Linked DNA regions of Homo sapiens: region 2 is linked to region 1. Evidence: promoter capture Hi-C in 16 types of primary human blood cells and fetal thymus (Javierre and others, 2016). All regions are on one chromosome and are shown on one strand. The core of a region is centred on a gene start or on the middle of the fragment in contact, and the rest is flanking DNA. Distances in the headings are between cores, read along the strand shown. Region 1 holds the start of MBL2 (mannose binding lectin 2). Region 2 has its middle 65 kb from the start of PRKG1.

The links. The method cuts DNA at HindIII sites, captures the fragments that hold promoters and counts their contacts. A CHiCAGO score of 5 or more calls a contact.
Region 2: a contact is called between a fragment that was not itself captured here and the fragment with the promoter of MBL2 in region 1, in 1 of 17 cell types (endothelial precursors). The highest score is 6.9, in endothelial precursors.

What each region holds. Positions count from the first base shown.
Region 1 is chr10:52,771,534-52,774,055 of GRCh38, reverse strand. MBL2 (mannose binding lectin 2) reads left to right here and starts at 1,272. Exons shown (of 5, transcript NM_001378373.1): 1 at 1,272-1,319; 2 at 2,412-2,522. The coding sequence starts at 2,421. The HindIII fragment of the contact is 7,250 bases long and covers 1-2,522 here.
Region 2 is chr10:51,008,152-51,010,673 of GRCh38, reverse strand. It overlaps a transcript of PRKG1 not described here. Among named protein-coding and RNA genes, the nearest start is that of PRKG1, 65 kb to the left of the region's middle. The HindIII fragment of the contact is 249 bases long and covers 1,133-1,381 here.

The sequences.
Region 1 (2,522 bases), core at 23-2,522:
TATTCTAGCTAATTCTCAAGTGCAATCAATACCTCCTGTTTCTCAAGTGTGCCTACCTTCTTAATCTAGCTGCCATTACCCTGACCCAGGCCACTGTCTTCTGCTGCTTAGATCATGGCAAGCACTTCCTTTTAGATCTGCTTTTCTCCAGTCCTGTTCCCCTCAACATCATAGCCAGAACAAGCCTTGCAAAATTCAAATGTGATCACCTCTCCACTACTGCAGTCCCTCTAGTGCCCCCTGGAAGGAAACCCAAAGTCTTTAACACAGTTTACAATTCTTGTTATGAGGATGAAATTTGAAGACATTGTGCTAAGTGAAATAAGCCAGATACAAGGGGGCTATTGTATGATTTCACATATATGAGGTACCTAGGATAGATGAATTCAGAGAGACAGAAAGTAAAACAGAAGTTACCAGTGGCTGTGGGTAGGGGTAAATGGAGAATTCTAGTTTAATGAGTTGAGAGTTTCAGTTTGGGATGATGAAAATCATCCCATGATGTGGTGATGATAGCACAACCGTGTGAATGTACTTAATGCTACTGAGTTGTGTGCTTAATAATAATGGTCAAAATGGTAAATTTTATGTCTATTTTACCACAATGAAAAACTGGAAAAGTAAAGTCAATGACTATAATATCATAAAGTGTAAGTAACATGAGAGAAAATAATTCAGGCTAAGAGGATAGAGACTGCTAGGTAGGACTATTTTAGAATAAGTGATCAAGGTACTGATTTCTCTGAAATTGGAATATTTGAATAGAAGAGAAAGAGCTAGCTGGCGATGCCCGTAAGGGGTCCAGGCATGGAGACATCAAATGAAGAGTCTGAGGCAGGAATGGCCTTAATGCATTAATGGCAGCAAGAGGTCTATGTGGTTTCATGGATGGGTGTGTGCGTGCATGCACGTGTCTGTGTGTATAGTTGGTGTGCATGAGCATGTGTATGCATTTGTGAGTATCTTTGTTTTTCTGTTGGAAACAAGGATGTCAACAGGACTAACTAGGTGAACCTAGCTGTGGTAGTTCAGCAATGAGATTTGCCAAAATGGATGGCAATTGAAAGAGGAATTGTGCTGTATTAAAGCAGACAGCTGCCGAGCACTGTATTGGAGGCTCCTAAATTTCTCATAGTTCTGAGAAGAGCTGTTTATTAATCTGGAGTTGAAGGCCAGGCCCAGGATATCCTTGTTCACAAGGTTGATTGGGCCCTACATTGCTGAGCCCAGCCTCCTCCCTCACTCTGAGGCATCTGCCAGAGCCCCAGGCTAGAGGGCCAGCGTCCTTGTCACTGAGTCCCTGCTCTGCAGAAACACCAGTAAGTCATTTCTGGTGAATAAATCTGGGTTTCCGGATCAAGGGTTTGGGGAGCTGACATGACCCTGGAGGCATGGAGGAGGCTTTCTAGGGGTGGGGGGAGTGGGATGGAAAGCAGAAATCAGGTTGAGGATGTCTCTTTTTCTGCTTGTGCTGGAGCATCTGTGACTTTCCTCCATTATCTGTTCATCTGCAGTGGAGACTGTCTTTGTTTTCAAAGGGAAACTTGGAGGCTTAGACCTATGGGGCTAGGCTGCTGAGGTTTCTTAGGGGGCAATAGCTGGAAGAAAGCTCTGAAGAACAAATGAAAGGTTAATACTGAGAAATGGGAGGAGGATTCAAGGCAAGTTTTCTAATTGCCAGTGGTTTTTGACTCACAGAACATGGGGAATTCCTGCCAGAAAGTAGAGAGGTATTTAGCACTCTGCCAGGGCCAACGTAGTAAGAAATTTCCAGAGAAAATGCTTACCCAGGCAAGCCTGTCTAAAACACCAAGGGGAAGCAAACTCCAGTTAATTCTGGGCTGGGTTGGTGACTAAGGTTGAGGTTGATCTGAGGTTGAGACCTTCCTCTTTGGATCACCAGCTTTCAGCTCAGGGCCTGCCAATGAGTAAATGATAGTTAACAGGTCCTGGAGGGGAATCAGCTGCCCAGATACAAAGATGGGATTCAGGTGGCAGATGGACCCGAAGAGGACATGGAGAGAAAGAGGAAGCTCCTACAGACACCTGGGTTTCCACTCATTCTCATTCCCTAAGCTAACAGGCATAAGCCAGCTGGCAATGCACGGTCCCATTTGTTCTCACTGCCACCGAAAGCATGTTTATAGTCTTCCAGCAGCAACGCCAGGTGTCTAGGCACAGATGAACCCCTCCTTAGGATCCCCACTGCTCATCATAGTGCCTACCTTTGTTAAAGTACTAGTCACGCAGTGTCACAAGGAATGTTTACTTTTCCAAATCCCCAGCTAGAGGCCAGGGATGGGTCATCTATTTCTATATAGCCTGCACCCAGATTGTAGGACAGAGGGCATGCTCGGTAAATATGTGTTCATTAACTGAGATTAACCTTCCCTGAGTTTTCTCACACCAAGGTGAGGACCATGTCCCTGTTTCCATCACTCCCTCTCCTTCTCCTGAGTATGGTGGCAGCGTCTTACTCAGAAACTGTGACCTGTGAGGATGCCCAAAAGACCTGCCCTGCA
Region 2 (2,522 bases), core at 8-2,507, 1.8 Mb after region 1:
CAAGCACTTCACATCTTCAGTTCAACTTACTGTGTAGCCCTTTTCCAGCAATCATCTCCAACTTGGACAGTTCAAGCACTTACTAAAGCAAGTATTATTTCATGATACATGTTCCCCTATCTTTTGTTTATATTATAGTTAGGATACCACATATATATATATGCATAGATACACACAATTATGTGTGCAGATGGGTTATATTATTGATGAATTTAATTTCAGCATAGTGAGGGAGCATTAGGAAATATCTGGTATGAAAAGGAAAGCATTGTCTGAAATAGGGTTATAAATCACTACTCTTGCCCATCATAATCTTTTGGGATCTTGATTCTGTTTTCCAACATAATAAGCAATCCTCACAGCATCTTGCCCTGTGCAAATCTGAGTGAGATGCCATTAATGGCCTCACCCAAATAATTGGCAAAGATGCTTAATGTAGAGCGAATGATTTACGCTGGGTAGTAGAATTCGCTTTTCTGCACGTGCTCCATGGAATTCCACATCTACCTTTCAACCTACATTCTTAACACAACTTCGCACAAACAATGGCCCTGGAAAATTCCCACAAATCAGAGGCCAATCATGCTTCCCAGTGGAGCCACCCTCTCCTGACCCCTCCTTCCACTGCTGAAGGCACTTGGACATTTCCAGTAAAGTTTCTATAAAATGAAATAACCATTTGAATTATACCTGAGATCTTTTACAATAAAGAGAAGAGAAACTTTCCAAAATCTCTGATAGCAGGCGTATGAGAATCAAAGCAAAGAAGATACAATTTTGAGGAGAATGGAGAATGATACTTCTCTCTGGGTAGCATGAATGTTCTGGCAGATTTTCTTTCCAAAAGTACGATTCCATATTGAACAATGCATTGTCAAATATTTTATATCTTCAAGAAGTCCAAAACCATTCCCAGAAATCTGGATTCTTTGAACCACCTTGTATGAGAATGTTTCTGAATTAAATAGACCCAGAAAGAAATATATTATCATAAATTTCTAAATTATATTTTCAGATGATAACTGGAATGTCCATTGTATAATTTATTTTATATAAAACTAATTCACTAATAAGACTATTCAACTAGCTCATGCTGTCTCTTAAATTTTTCTTATATTCTTAAGAGAAAGCTTAACTTTTCAGTGGTATGATAGTAAAATAGAAATACCATAACAGAAATCCTCAATTTCTGTTATAGACTACATTAACAAAAACCCTCTAGTAAAGCTAAAAGTATGTGTGTGCACCTTAGATTGAGGTGGAGGTGGGAGAACTATTTAAATTCTACTTTTAAATGCAGAGAATAATGTTAACTTAAAAATAGTTTATCCCTAAATATAACTGTGTTTCAAAATGTATAATTTAATTGGCATTTAAAGCTTTTCTAAATTAGTTAGATAAATACACCAAAGAAAATCTATCTTTATCCTAATATATCTATTTGTGGTTTATTCCATTTGTTCTTTGTAACCCTAAAGAAACAAGTTACCAAAATTATAGGGAATTAAGGCATTGAAATTATAGCATAGAAGGGTTTTTTTTCCTTCTAAAATTACAGGTAAGAAAACTACAGTCTACAGAAGTTGTCTCACATTTTAAGCCCAATTTTGTTTCCCTATAAATCCTTATAAAACTCATACCATGAAAACAAGAGAACCACAAACCATCAGAGATGTGTGACATTTCATGGAGCCACCAGAGACTAATACTTTCATCTGAACCAAAGGACAATCAATCAACACCATATCCTTTGAAAAATAAGAAAATGGGAGAAGGAGGGAGGGCAGATGGAAATGGCAGGTGAAAAAGCCTCCACAAAACCTTGTATCATAAATACCTAAATGTGTCCTTTACTCTCTTCATCTCATCCAAAATCTTTTTTTTCCATGGGCTCAGCAGACTTCAGAAGTCACAGCTCCATATCTTGGGCTTGAAGGAAGATAAATACAGGTGTATGGTACAACTGTGACCTTATTTGAACACAGCATCTTTATAGATGTAATCAAGACGACATCATATTGGATTAGGGTGGGCCCCAAATTGAATGACTAGTAATCTTACAAGAGGGGAATTTAGACACACATACTCACAGAGAAAAGACAACCATGTGAAAATGAAGGCAAAGATTGGAATGCAAGTCCAAGTCATGGAATGGTTAAGGTTGCCAGCAACCACCAGAAGCTAGAAAGAGGCAAGGGAAGCTCCTCTCCTAGGGTTTTCAGAAAGAGCATGGCTCTGCTGACACCTTGAATTCGAACTTCTAGTCTACAGAGCTGGGAGTAAATAAATTTCTGTTGCTTGAAGCCACCCAGTTTGTGGCGATGTGTTCCAGCAGAACTAAGAAATGAATGCATATAGTCACCCTTCTTGCAGTATATACCTAGAAAGCTACTTCTCAAGGAGTTATAGCAAATTTCCTGGTCCCAAATTCCCCAAGCCTACCTATTAAGCCAGAATCTTTGGAGATGGGCCTAGGAGTCTTCACTGCAACAAATGGAACCCAAGAGATGTTTATACGTACT